Regions from separate parts of the Homo sapiens genome. Here all the other regions are linked to region 1. The links are contacts of gene promoters, found by promoter capture Hi-C in blood cells and fetal thymus (Javierre and others, 2016). All regions are on one chromosome and are shown on one strand. The core of a region is centred on a gene start or on the middle of the fragment in contact, and the rest is flanking DNA. Distances in the headings are between cores, read along the strand shown.

Region 1 (2,700 bases), core at 22-2,521:
GAGTTTAATCCAAACGAACAGAGCTGTGAAATAAGATGTCAGTGACTGACATGGACCAGCTACACTCATGACTACTTGGCCTTAGGACTTGACAATATAATATAAAAGTATCAGCACATGAGGCAATACAAATAATCTACTTTGATGTATTTGACAGGGGAGGAAACCCTGAACTCAGCAAGCTGCTGAGAGTATCAGAAAGGCTGGGGGCCTCCAGAAACTGCCCTTCTTTAAGTCTGAGCTCAGACTGTGCCTGTGGCTGTGATCTGGGTGTAAAGGACCTATTAAGGGGGCATTTCTCTAAGACTTCTACAGGGCCTGGGTCCAGAGGCCTGCCAAGCTGAGGTGCTTGACAAAAAGCCTGAATGAACAAACATATTTCTTCCCATTATGTTCTCTTAGAAAGTATGGCAGATTCCAGGTTAATCAATGTGTCCCAGGAACAACAAAGCCCTTCAAAGGTCACAGGTGATTCCTGGGTCCTTCTCTATCTCTACCCAGAAAAGCAGATCTCTAGTGGGCTCCCAAAAGCTTTCCTCACAGCTCTGCCTGTTTCAAATTCCTCCAGAGTTCTGGAAGGTTCTACATCTTGCCAGAGTCTAGCCTAATCCGTCCTCAAGTTGCTTGTTTGTTTGTTTGTTTGCTTGCTGAATGGTCAATCAAGTATGAGGTGGTGCAGAGTACAGGATTGCAAGTTAAGAAACTTGTTTCCTAGTCCTAGATGGGCCGTGCACTTAAAACCTTTGGGAAATCACTTCACTTCTCTGAACCTGGTAAGACTAAAGTATCTCCAATAACCTCTACAAGCACTAACGTTCTGTGATTCTCAATAAAACACGAGATAGCCTGAGATCGATTTAGATCTCAGGTCCCTATCTGTCGGGGGAAGCCACAGGTTTCCGCAGATTTAGGGCCACCGCGAAAAGCTGCCATGGAAACTGGAACGCAAGCAAGCAAAACTCGCCGGGCGGAACCAGAAGGCGGCGGGTAAGGGAGCAGAGGGAACAGAGAAAAGCATAGGACGAAGGGCTCACTAACAGTATTCCGAGTACGAGAAAGCGAAAAAGCCCAGACTGAAAAGGGTACTGAGAAATTACGACTAGTCTTAAATGCTCCCTTCGCTTCTCGGGCCTCGCCACACCGCGCAGGCGCCCCACTGGTCCTTAACTCTGTTCTTTGACCTCCTGCCCCAGCCCCCTCCTCTTCAGCCACCTAGCGACTCTTCCGGTGCTGTGAAGGCGGTTCCGGTTCGCGGCGGTTCCCGGGTTTTGCGTTCCGCGCCCGGCCGGAAACCCCTTCGCATGGCAGCCGGTTCCGGTTCGGTGAGTGGCGGCGGGAAGCTGGGGGAGGGGTGAGGATGGAGGGAGCCTGGTCCAGGAGACTGTGTCGGACCCGGTCAGCCGGCCCGGGCTGGACTGGGCGGAAGCGGGGAGCACTGTGGGGCCGGCGCCTTTTCCTCTGCCCCGCCCCCTGGGACCACCTCCCCTCCCCCCTGCTGTCCGGTGGCCGCGCTGTGGCCGCCGGTGGCCGTTAGGCTACCTGAGGCCGTTCCTTCTGGTCTCTCTCTCCTGGGCCGCGGAGAGACCGTCTCCCTGCCGTTACAGCAGGCCCCATCCCAGCGCCCAGCCGTACTTGGGGAAAGGCCGGTTGCGATTCCGGGGCTTTCCCGCCAGAGCTGGGTCTTCTCTGGGGAGAGCTGTTTTCACCGGGAAGCTCGGCTTTCTGTGGTACCGGCTTCATCTCCCGCCTTCCTTGAGACCCGAGTGATATTTCTTGACTACTTCTGCGTCTCACGTAAACATTTCTCCAACTCTCCTACTCTGTGGTATCTCCCTGAGATGTGATATCGCTAGTGCCACCATCAGAAAGAAACGTCTGGACCCTCCTGCTCAGGTTATGAAAATCCCCTTAACTGCCACAATTTGCTTACCTGGCTCATCGCCTCCTGGTAATTCCCTTGAACCGTCTCTTTCTTGGTGTACCCTAACGTGATCTCTGGATCTATGCCTCGTTTCTCTTTCCTTGAGCTTGGTGATTTCTGTTTATCGGTGCCTGTGCAGTATTTCCACTATCTTGTTAGCAGTAACTTGCTTCTTTATCACTTTCAAGTCAGCCTTGTTAAAGTCATTTTACTTCATATTTGGTACACTTATTATATTTGGAGTGGTGGTGATTCTTGTAATATTCATATAAAGCCTTTTATCTACTACCAACTATTTGACTGAGGGTCTTTGTTATAATTGGTTATTCTGGATGTATTAGATCTCATCATCTCCTAAATCTTTATTCTTCATAAAAATAATTTGTGTTAAGGACTCATGTTGAAATACAGATTACCCTGACTTTGAAATTACAGTTAAAGCGCAACTTTAAGCATCTCTATAAGCATGATCCCTTAACCTACTTCCAGTTTACACTCTACCACCCTTTATTTTTCCTCTCTAGTCCCTTTTAGGAAGGCTTATTCATTTTTAACTGACTTCAATTAATTATCCCAACTGCAAAGATGGTCTTCATGTCACTCATCTAATGAGTTGTCTAGAGGGAGTGGATGGGTACAAAAACAGGTTCTGCTACTTCTGGCTAAGGGAATGCAGTTGTTGACTTGCATTGCGGCTTTGGAACTCTTGTCCTTTTCTTCCCAACTTCTACATCTTCTATCAGTTGTACCAGCTCTACTGTCTTGCGGTACCTGTTTAT
Region 2 (2,868 bases), core at 134-2,633, 550 kb before region 1:
GAAGATAACCAGGTAGTTAACAGATTTCAAGAAATGGTAGCACTTGCATAAAATGTGTTTTGTAAAGTAACTTGAATTTTATTGTATCTAATCATCTCAATTTTGGTTCATCCTACAGAGCTTCTTTGCTAACTTGGAAATATAGCCCTTTTCTTCTTCTACCTTTAACAAAAGTTGTTAATAGAGTCCTTGGAATGTTTCTAGAATACTTTTTTTTTTCAATGGGCCTTCATACACAAAATTTTCTTCTTCCTTTAGGATCATAAAAGGATTCCTCTGTACTAGCACACTCCCCTAAAAAAAAAAGGCATGTATATTTAATTTCTTGTTAGGATATGATACCTAGTGACTTTTACTAGAGCTCTGTTTCCCCCTATTCCAGTGGTGCTTTAAATGAATTTATCATGTAATCATCTTTGGAAACGAGGTCCAAGAAATTGTTGCAAACTTTGCCAGTCTGCTAAGGGAGCAGAGACATTGTATCGCTTGACTCTTTTGGAAGGGCTGTTTAGGGGCATTTTCAAGGCTATTTGCATTTGCCACTACATGTTTCTTCTGAATATGTGTGTGTTCCTAGGAGTGTTACTGCTACTTGCTTAAGGGAGAATGGGATGGTGTCTAGTTTAAATGACCAGGATCCTGAAAAGGAGGTTGGGGACAAGTTTTAAATTACTGGTAGAGCTAGAATTTGATGCTAGTAAATGACATTTATTTTGAGAAGTAACTTTAAAAATTGCTAACTGCATTTGGTATTCTGTATCAAATGTAGTTGTAATTTATCTTATATAGTCCACACCTTGAGTTTTATGTGGCAGACAATGCTATTTGTATTTTATGCTTTCGATAGATTGTGTTTTATTTCCCTTGACCATTTTTCTACAGATATTTGTCAGGATACGAATCAGGTTCTCTTCAAGTGCTGCCAGGGATCTGAAGAGGTACCCTGCAACAAACCTGTTCCTGTAAGCCTCTCTGAGGATCCCTGCTGCCCACTGCATTTCCAGTTGCCTCCTCAGATGTATAAGCCCGAGCAGGTACTGTCTGTGCCAGACGATCTGGAAGCCGGCCCCATGGATCTGTACTTGAGTGCTGCTGAGCTTCAGCCCACTGAGAGTTTACCTCTGGAGTTCAGTGATGTAAGTTAGAGAAGCTCTGCTTTGGTTCAGGCCCTTGAGACAAAGCCTTATTTATTAATGGTGAGAATAGGTTAGTCTTTGTGGTTAGGAGAATCGACAAAGTTTTTGAAGTGATATATACGTATAGTTGTATTTATATGTTAGCATATTCATTTAGAGAAATCTACCCTACCTTATATTTTTTTCCAGACTCTTCCCATACCTTTTTAGGGATACAATTTACATACTATAAATTGCACTCTTTGAAAGTGTATAATTGAGTGATTTTTAGTATATTCGCAAAGTTACGCAACTACCACCACTATCTAATTTCAGAAGGTTTTCACCATCTCCAAAAGAAACTCAGTACCTATTATGACACTCTTCATTTTCTTCTCCCCTCAGCCCCTGGCCACGATGAATCTACTTTTTGTCTCTGATTTTGCTTATTCTGGACATTTCATATCAATGTAATAGTATATGTATCCTTTTGTGTCTTGCTTGTTTCACTTAGCATAATGTTTTCAAGGTTTATCCATACTATAATATGTATCAATACTTCATTCCTTTTTGTGACTGAATTAATATTCCATTGTTTGGAAATACCACGCTTTAAAAATATATCAGTTGATGGATATTTGTGCTGTTTCTACTTTCTGGCTATTAAGGAATATACTGTTAAGAACTTTTGAGACAGAGTTTCTGTCGGTGGCATGAGCCACCACGCCCAGCTTAGTTATCATTTTTATAACTTTTTTTTTTTTAAATTGGGGTCTTGCTCTGTTGCTCAGGCTGGAGTGCAGTGGCATGATCATGGCTCCGTGCAGCCTCGAACTCCTGGGCTTAAGTGATCCTCCTGTCTCAGCCTCCCAAGTAGCTGGGACTATAGGTTTATGCCACCATGCCCAGCCAATTTTTTATTTTTTGTATAGATGAGATCTCCCTATGTTGCATGGGCTGGTCTTCAACTCCTAGGCTCAAGTGATCCTCTTACCTTGGCCTCAAGTGATCCTCTTACCTTGGCCTCCCAAAGTGCTGGGATTACAAGTGTGAACCACTGTGCCTGGCCACTATAACTTGGCTTTTTTTTTTTTAGACTGAGTCTTGTTCTGTTGTTCAAGCTGGAGTGCAGTGATGTGATCTCAGCTCACTGCAGCCTCTGCCTTCAGGGTTCAAGTGATTCTTGTGCTTCACCCTCCTGGGTAGCTGGGACTACAGGTGTGCGCCAGCAGGCCTTGCTGATTTTTGTATTTTTTGTAGAGACAGGGTTTCACCATGTTGGCCAGGCTGGTCTCTAACTCCTGGCCTCAAGTGACCCACCCACCTTGGCCTCCCAAAGTGCTGGGATTATAGGCATGATTCACCATTCCTGGCGTATAACTGTTAATGATAACTTTGGTGATTTTACTTGCGGGAAGACTAGGCATCAGATATTAATATGAGTAAAAACACAGCCGTTCATTCTGGATATTTGCTTGTTTTCTGTGCTTTGATGCAAGGATGGTTGGCAAGTAGTAACTTAACACCTTAATCTTACTACTTTTGAGTTCCTTCTCTCTCATTCTCTATTGCTGGTTTTGGAGATAGTAACAAAACGTGGATTCTCTTATTTTATCTTTATTTATTTTTTGAGACGGAGTCTTGGTCTGTCGCCCAGACTGGAGTGCAGTGGCACGATCTCGGCTCACTGCAACCTTCACCATCTGGGTTCAAGCAATTCTCCTGTTCCTGCCTCCCGAGTAGCTGGGATTAC
Region 3 (2,835 bases), core at 221-2,720, 520 kb before region 1:
ACTCTAAGGCTCCCGAATGGTCTACTGTTCTACAGTGCTTTCCCAACCTGCTCCACCCACATTTTTTTTTTTTTTTTGAGATAGGGTCTCACCCAGGCAGGAGTGTAGTGGTGCGATCACAGCTCACTACAGCCTCGACTTCCTGGGCTCAAGCCATCCTCCCACCTCAGCCTCCCAAGTAGCTGGGACTACAAGCACATGCCACCATGCCTGGCTACTTAAAAAAAAATTTAACAGAAATGAAGTCTCCCTATATCGTCCAGGCTGGTCTCAAATTTCTGCGCTCAAGCGATCCTCCCAAAGTTCTGGGATTATAGGCGTGAGCCACTGCATCTGGCCCCAAACGTTTTTTAAGTGATAGAAATGTCAAAATTAGAGAGCAGCATAATGTTCTTCCAATCCGCAGGGAGCTATTTACCTGGAGGTCCCGGCTGGGCACCAACAGGAGGACCACAGCTGGTGAACTGTGGAAGGGTAGGAGGCGTGCGCATCGCCTCTAGGAGAGTTGGTCCTACTCTGAAGTCATGCACGTTCCTGAGGCTGCCACTCATCTCAGACTATTTTTTCTTTCCAAGAAAATGAGACTTGGAAATCCAGATGAGCAATCTATATCATCTATTCAGCAAGATATGCAACACAGAAAGATCTGAATTAACCCAGATCCCACCCCCCTGGGAAACCACTCTTTCTCTTTGGACAGGTGGCCTGGTGACCCTTGGTAAAGCCATTTCCACACTTTGCCCAGTCTCCGATCAGTTTGTTGGAAACTGGAAACACTCTATTTATCTTGGTTCTCCTGCCTTGTATTTTCCATACAGGTCAAATGCTCAGTTTATCTTAACTAACTGTGGGTTCTTTAGAAACTTCTCTTCTGGCGTAGGTTTCCTTCTCTCAGTTATTGCAGCACTACCTTTCCACCAAACACATAGGAAGACTTTGTGGAATGAATAAATAAATTAATATATGAATTCATTACAATAATTTTCCAAAAGCAAATTGCCATGAAAAAATTGCACCATCTGACAGTTAACGCTAGAGTCAAAGAGACATTTAAATGACTACTAAAATAGAGGAGGAATCATTGGGTCATCCCCTACAGTTGAGGGAATATTGGAAGCTTGGGATGGAATCATAAATAAGAATGGATATGGAAGTCAAAAATATGTGTGTGCGTAGGAGGAAGAAACCAGAAAGCCCAATGTGATAGTTTTCTCACTTTTGAAGTTAAGAAAGGCGACATCTCACATTAGCCGATGGCAGTGAGAACACAGGGTTTTTCTGTTCCTGGCCTGATCCTACGTTTTCCTTTGGCTTTGGGCTTACATCATGCAGACCCACATTCAGTCATATGGGGATACAGACATGGAACAAACTGAATGCTTTCATATGTATTTGAACATATTCTGTCTTCTATATACTAATGATTTCTTAAAGAGCCAAGGAGTGACTTGAATTGAGAGTGAAATAGGACTCTGGGTTTAGCAGAAAGAGGGAGCAAAGGAAGAAACTAGTTAAACTAACCAAATCAACCAACCAGTCAACTGACCCGAAACTTCTGAAGTCTACACTCTGAGCCAATGCTTATGATTATAAAGTTAGAAGCACTGCCCTTGCCAACCAATGAATTTGACCTTGGTTCCTGGTAAAATTCCTAAATAGATGCTATGTAGAATAGTTGGAAGTCCCATAAGGGATCACCAGGATCTTTGTAATGCTGAACCTAATGTAAAACCTCATAATAATATCTTTTATTGACAGTACTAATAATTTAACAATCAGGAGAAAGGAGCAGAGAAAGGGCATGTTAATCTCAGTAAAGCTTCATAAAAAGATGATGACTGTGTGCTTAGAGATAACGCTTTTTTAGCCTGGTGCAGTGGCTCACGCCTGTAATCCCACCACTTTGGGAGGCCGAGGCAGGCGGATCACGAGGTCAGGAGTTCAAGACCAGTCTGACCAACATAGTGAAACCCTGTCTCTACTAAAAATACACAAAAAATTAACCAGGTGTGGTGGTGTGCGCCTGTAATCCCAGCTACTCAGGAGGCTGAGGCAGGAGAATGGCGTGAACCTGGGAGGCGGAGGTTGCAGTGAGCCAAGATCGTGCCAATGCACTCCAGCCTGGGCGACAGAACGAGACTCTGTCTCAAAAAAGAAAAAAAGAAAAAAGATAACGCTTTTAGTTTGGCTACCATACACCAAAATTATTCATTAATGACTAAAAATCTGGAGAAATCTGTCTAGTGAAAAGGAGAATGTGTTGTAGATCTTATCTTCGTCACCTATTTTAGCAATGACTTCAATAGGCATAGTAAGCATGCATGGCTCATCAAACTTCAGATGATATGAAACAAAGAGGGAAAATCAATATTGTAAGCAACAATTATAATTCAAAATAATCTTGCCTTTTGGAATGCCAAACTAAAAACAAGACGGAATTTAACAGAGGCACATATAAAATCTGCATGTAGATTTTAACAACCGGTTACACAAGCATAGGAAGGGTAAGACCCAACTTAGTAGCCAATTATGTGAAAATAATTTGGGCTTTTTGTTGACTATCATGAATTTTTTCTTTTTTTTTTTTTTTGAGATGGATTCTGGCTCTGTCGCCCAGGCTAGAGTGCAGGGTTATGATTTCAGCTCACTGCAACCTCCACCTCCCAGGCTCAACTGATTCTCCTGCCTCAGCCTCCCAAGCAGCTGGAACTGCAGGTGCCCAACACCGAGCCCGGCTACTTTTTTGTATTTTCAGTAGAGACGGGGTTTCACCGTGTTAGCCAGGATGGTCTCCATCTCCTGACCTCGTGATCTGCCCGCCTCGGCCTTCCAGAG
Region 4 (2,700 bases), core at 61-2,560, 570 kb before region 1:
AATTTAAAAAAAGTTTGAACACCAAATTCTACGTATGAGAAAGTATAGGGGAGAAAACAGGAAATTTAGACATGGGAGTGTGGGAGGTGGATTGAGAAATGGTCAGACCAGTTTAGAGAAGAGAAAATGGTTGTGAATGGGTGCTTGGCCTAAACCTCAGGAATAATGTGATTGTAGTTGAATACTTCTGCAAAATGTCGTGTTTATGGGATTTATAAATTTTTTAAAGTTATATATTGTTTTAAATTGACAATTGTACAATGTATGGGGTACAGTGTGATGTTTGGATACTTGTAAACCTTGTGTCATGATCAAATCAGGGTAATTAGCATATTCATCAGCTCAAGCATTTAGTGTTTTTTTGTGTGTGGATTTTTTTTTTAAAAAGAAGAATAAAAAGGTATTCAAGAGTTTGGTTTCATGCCTAAGAAAGAGAAACCGATTTAGAAACCCAAAAGTGATTATATCTTAATCAGGTTTATATCTTAGTAAGCTTCTGCTCTTCACTTAACCCATCATCACCGTAGGAGTTGTAGAAGCATAAAAACATTACCACTCTGGAGTCTCATATTTCTGTGTCTCAAGGTCTGGGTGTAGTTTTTAAAAATGTTTGCCTGCTGACTTCTGTGTCTTAACACTTTGTACTGACAGTTTATGTAAAGGGACTGTAAATAGTGGAAGGGGTAATTTCTAGATTGACTATTGGGCTTTTGTTCTTGCAATAGCATTTTCTTCATTACTTTGGATTCTTTGGTTTATAAGAAGTCATTTAGGGTTACATTTTCTCCTGACCCTGCTTAGCTTCTGAGATCAGAGGAGGTTGGGCATGTTCCGGATAGTATGGCCGTATGTTAGGGTTACGTTTTCTGAGTAGAATAATTTCATCCATTTCTATTGAGTAATCTCACTGTGGTCAACTATTCAGGAAGTACTAGTTTAGAAAACCCATCTAAGTAGTTGGAAAGGGAATGACTGTTCTCTTGCAGGATTCTCTCACAAATAGTAACTTAAACCAACATATTCATTCCTTTTTTTTTTTTTTTTTTTTTTTTTTGAGATGGAGTCTTGCACTGTCACCCAGGCTGGAGTGCAGTGGCATGATCTCAGTTCACTGCAACCTCCGCCTCCCAGGTTCAAGCAATTCTCCTGCCTCAGCCTCCCTCCCAAGTAGCTGGGATTATAGGCACCCACCACCACACCCAGGTAATTTTTTGTATTTTTAGTAGAGATGGGGTTTCACCATGTTGGCCAGGCTGGTCTCGAATTCCTGACCTCGTGATTCACCTGCCTCGGCCTCCCAAAGTGCTGGGATTACAGGCATGAGCCATCAGGCCCAGCTTCATTCCTTTTTTTTCCATTGTGGTTCTAGATGGCCAAACTTGCTGCTTTGAAGAGATGTATGCTCTCTAGGGTTACAAAGGGAGTGTCGTTTGGTGTGGTAAACACTCAGCTTAAGGTCGAGAAACTTGATTTTGTTAGTAATCTAGAGTGGATCAGTCTCTAGGAGGCACATGGATGCTGATTTAACTTACAGGAGGCTGCTGTATAAACCAAAATACCAGGTCATTTTATGAGAAATACAAATGTGGAAAGTACTAGGCAGTTGATGTCACTCTCTCCTAGAGGAAACATGTTCAGAAGAGAAAATAAAGCCCCAAATATGGTCAGCTATTAGGCAACTAAGTATAAGGCTTTCGTTAATTTTCCTCAGTGAGATTATTTTTTAAAAAAATTTAGACCCACTAAATTTATGCATTTTTAGGCATGTAAATAGAGTTGTTCAGTGTCTCCTTATGATTACATATTACTATCTTCTTATATTTAATAATATAGTAATTTAGTAGTATGTCCACTGAGTAAAATTCTTTTCATTAAGAATTTTTATCTTAGGGCACCAGTGTCTTTGTCATCAATAGGATCACTTTTTGAATCATCTAATAGTTTAACCACATTTATCTTCAATTGCTTGTTACACAAAGGGCAATTTTATATTGTTTATGATGTTGCTAGAGACTTGATCCTAACTAGAATATTGTTGGCATAGATTTTTTAAACTTCCTGTTAGTATATATATGATTTCCCTCAAAGTAACCACTTACTTAATTGTTTTGTTAAAAGTAAAGCTTGTTTATGGCCAGGCGTAGTGACTTACGCATGTAATCCTCGCACTTTTTTTTTTTGACACGAAGTTTCACTCTTGTCACCCAGGCTGGAGTGCAATGGTGCGATCTCAGCTCACTGCAACCTCCGCCTCCCGGGTTCAAATGATTTTCCTGCCTCAGCCTCCCGAGTAGCTGGGATTACAGGTGCCCGCCACCACACCCAGCTGATTTTTGTGTTTTTAGTAGAGACGGGGTTTCTCCATGTTGGCAGGCTGGTCTTGAACTCCTGATCTGAGGTGATCTGCCCGTCAGCCTCCCAAAGTGCTGGGATTACAGGGACGAACCAGTGCGCCCAGTGATCCTAGCACTTTGGGAGGTCGAGGTGGGAGGATTGCTTGAGCCCAGGAGTTCGAGACCAGCCTGGGCAACATAGGGAGACACCGTCTCTACGAAAGATTTAAAAATTAGCCAGACGTGGTGGTGCACGTGGTCTGTAGTCTTAACTACTCGAGAGGCTCAAGTAGGAGGATGGCTTGAGCCTGGGAGGTTGAGGCTCTGTGATCGTGCCACTGCATTCCAGTCTGGGCAACAGAGGGAG
Region 5 (2,766 bases), core at 151-2,650, 750 kb before region 1:
AGGTAGGTTAAGTGTCCAGCCCAGAGCTGAGCACTTAGAAGATTCTCAATAAAAAGTGGCTGCAGTTTTTGAAGATTCTGGCCTACCATGGTTGGTCTGATTCTTAGTTTAATCTGTGAATCTGTGAGTCGAGCGCCCTCTCGTGCTTTTGTGGTGAATTACACCTAACAGATCTCAGAGCTCTCTTCTTTCCCTTGCGTTCTCTCTGGAGTAGAAGCTGGGAGGTGAAAGGCTGCAGGTTCTAAGAGAAGTGTGTGTCTCCGAGGGTTACTTTGGGCCATTGTACGTGATGCTCAGGGCTTTAGGATTACTTGGGTCTATCCTGAGGCTCTGCTTGAGAGCTTGGGCATATTCAGAGAGAAAAGGCAGACCTACAGCCATGTGGAATTGAAGCAACAAACCTGCTGCTGGCAAAATGGGAAGGGAGGTCCGAGATACTTCTGGTTATCTAAACCGTTTCCGCAACTGCAATGTTTTGTTTTGTTTTGAGGGAAAGAGTTATGAACCCATAAGACCAAAGAGAAACACAAAGTGAACTTACGATTTGAGGTTAAAACAACAACAACAACATCAACAACAACAACAACAGCAACAACAAAACTCAGTGGAAGACTGAAGTAGGGGAATCTGGGGGAAGAAAGAAGCAAAAATACCAAGATAGCTCAACAATTGGTCACATTCCAAAGGGCAAGAAATTGAGGAAACCAGGGTTCCATCTGGAATGTTGAGAAAACAGGTGCTAGAGCCCAGGAGATACCATCCTTCCGGGAGGACTTTAGAGCCCATTGTGTGGGCTCATTTGGAGCTGTAACAATAACTGGGGGTTGTTATGGCATTCACCCGGCTGCAGGGGCCAAGGTTGCTAAAACGTCCTCCTAAGCCTGGGATAGTTCCACACACAATGGAGAACTGCATCACCCTCCTTGTGAACCTACTCCGGTAACCTGATCTTTAGTTTGTCCAACTGTAAAATGGGGCTAGCCCCATTCTCACAGAATTATTATAAAAACCGCTTTTCCACGAATGGTATTTATTGTTACTGCGGTTGTTAGCTATAATTACGTACTACAGATATCTCAGGAAGCCCTTAAATTCCTCCACTGTAAGCCACGGGCAAGGACAGTCATAGACCGTAGTTTCTAGGAAGACCAGCCGATTCCAAGAAGGGTGCTCGGCGGGAGAACCTAATGCCGAAAGCCTATTGGCGAAAAACTCTTCCTTCCCGGACGCTAACGTCTGGCAAACCACATTGCCCGGCAGACCCCGCAGCCTGGGGCCGGCGCTCAAGTCATGCATTCTGGGATTGGTAGTTTCCAGGCCTCAGTGTCGGCCTGTGCCGCCCAGCTCCAGGAACTCGCCTTCCCAGCTTGCCTCGCGGCCGGGGGGGTGGGGGGTGTTCATCTCCGCGACCAGGAAACGGGAAAGATGGCGACGGCTCCGCGACGTTGAGGCCGCGTTGGGCGGTTCAGACTCAGGGTGGTGAGTCCCGGGCGGTGGAGGCGGTTCCCACGAGCTTACAGAAAGGGCTAGAGTCAGGGCACGGCGGTGGCCCCTGCCTCCTGGATGAGGCGGGAAAGAACGCCTCAGAGAAGGGGCATGAACCCGGGAAGCTCGGGCGGGCTGGAGTGAAGGGGCGCGGGCCCCAGGGGTAGTGTTGGCTCCTCCGGGCACAGGCCACGTCCCTGCACGATATTTTCCTCCCAGGACTCTGCCTATGGGCACAGCGCCTCTGATACCCCCAGTCTGACCTTATTCTTTCATGCTTAAAGTAGCCTTTGGTGCAGCCAAACTGGAACTCTGGCTTTTCTCTCGCAGTCAGTCCATGTTTTCCCGCCTCTGCGCCGGCCGTATTATTTCTTTTGCCGGGAATGACTTCTTTTCCGCGTCCTTAATTACATATCTTAAAATTCTACTTATACTTAAAAGCTCAAGCGTCACTTCCTCTTCCAAGCCTTCCACATCACCTTTTACAAGTGAAAGGAAACGCCTTTGAACACCTGTATTACTACATCTGAGCCTTGATACTCTTCTTGGTATGTGTCTCATACCCCCTATTGTTCTTTTTTTTCTTTTCTTTTCTTTTTTTTTTTGAGACGGAGTCTCGCTCTGTCGCCTAGGCTGGAGTGCAATGGCACGATCTTGGTTCTCTGCAACCTCCGCCTCCCGGGTTCAAGCGATTCTCCTGTCTCAGCCTCCCGAGTAGCTGTGATTACAGGCGCACGCCGCCACGCCCGGCTAATTTTTTGTATTTTTAGTAGAGACGGGGTTTCACCGTGTTCCCCAGGCTGGTCTCGAACTCCTGAGCTCAGGCAATCCACCTGTCTCGGCCTCTTAAAGTGTTAGGATTACATGCGTGAGCCACCGCGTCCGACCTCATAACCCTGTTGTTCTAAACACTTCCTGTGAACAGAATTTATTTTTGTAACTCACATAGCACCTAGCACTGTGCCTTGCGTACAGTAGATGCTTGTTAAATACGTCATTGAGTGAAAAAAAAGAATGTGCCCCTGCCCTGCAAGAACTGAGGACCTGAAGATCTGGAGGTTTGAGAGGAAGGCTGCTGGGAAGCATGGCCAGAGTCAGCCTGGTTATTTGGCCCTTGTGATAATAGAACCTGTAATAAAAGTTGCCTGTATTTACTGTCTTCTTCTCATTTTTCATTCTCTTCCAAACTCATTCCACTCAGGCTTCCATTCCCGCAATGCAACTGAAACAGCTCTTGTCAAGGTCACCAATAATCTCCATTTTTCCAAATTCAGTGGTTAC

Evidence for each region. Contacts are between HindIII fragments. The CHiCAGO score rates a contact against its expected background, and 5 or more counts as called.
Region 2: a contact is called between a fragment that was not itself captured here and the fragment with the promoter of SENP1 in region 1, in 1 of 17 cell types (erythroblasts). The highest score is 6.1, in erythroblasts.
Region 3: a contact is called between a fragment that was not itself captured here and the fragment with the promoter of SENP1 in region 1, in 2 of 17 cell types (M1 macrophages and M0 macrophages). The highest score is 8.4, in M1 macrophages.
Region 4: a contact is called between a fragment that was not itself captured here and the fragment with the promoter of SENP1 in region 1, in 11 of 17 cell types (erythroblasts, M1 macrophages, M2 macrophages and 8 more). The highest score is 9.8, in erythroblasts.
Region 5: the fragment with the promoter of DDX23 here is called in contact with the fragment with the promoter of SENP1 in region 1 in 13 of 17 cell types (erythroblasts, neutrophils, M2 macrophages and 10 more); the score reaches 16.3 in erythroblasts.

The regions. Positions count from the first base shown.
Region 1 is chr12:48,104,650-48,107,349 of GRCh38, reverse strand. SENP1 (SUMO specific peptidase 1) reads left to right here and starts at 1,271. Exons shown (of 18, transcript NM_001267594.2): 1 at 1,271-1,322. It also overlaps a transcript of PFKM not described here. RefSeq lists enhancers at 525-1,398, 1,684-1,893, 1,399-2,274 and a silencer at 1,404-1,543. The HindIII fragment of the contact is 3,654 bases long and covers 534-2,700 here.
Region 2 is chr12:48,658,634-48,661,501 of GRCh38, reverse strand. KANSL2 (KAT8 regulatory NSL complex subunit 2) reads left to right here. Exons shown (of 10, transcript NM_017822.4): 8 at 883-1,136. Among named protein-coding and RNA genes, the nearest start is that of SNORA2A, 3.3 kb to the right of the region's middle. The HindIII fragment of the contact is 6,321 bases long and covers 1-2,868 here.
Region 3 is chr12:48,624,811-48,627,645 of GRCh38, reverse strand. No RefSeq gene overlaps it. Among named protein-coding and RNA genes, the nearest start is that of SNORA2C, 28 kb to the left of the region's middle. The HindIII fragment of the contact is 702 bases long and covers 1,120-1,821 here.
Region 4 is chr12:48,676,139-48,678,838 of GRCh38, reverse strand. All of the region lies in intron 4 of KANSL2 (KAT8 regulatory NSL complex subunit 2), which reads left to right. Among named protein-coding and RNA genes, the nearest start is that of KANSL2, 4.7 kb to the left of the region's middle. The HindIII fragment of the contact is 1,630 bases long and covers 496-2,125 here.
Region 5 is chr12:48,850,797-48,853,562 of GRCh38, reverse strand. It overlaps DDX23 (DEAD-box helicase 23), which reads left to right and starts at 1,400. Exons shown (of 17, transcript NM_004818.3): 1 at 1,400-1,479. LOC105369755 (a long non-coding RNA gene) reads right to left here and starts at 1,842. Exons shown (of 2, transcript XR_944925.3): 1 at 1,749-1,842; 2 at 1,014-1,513. RefSeq lists enhancers at 266-475, 1,355-1,544. The HindIII fragment of the contact is 5,632 bases long and covers 1-2,766 here.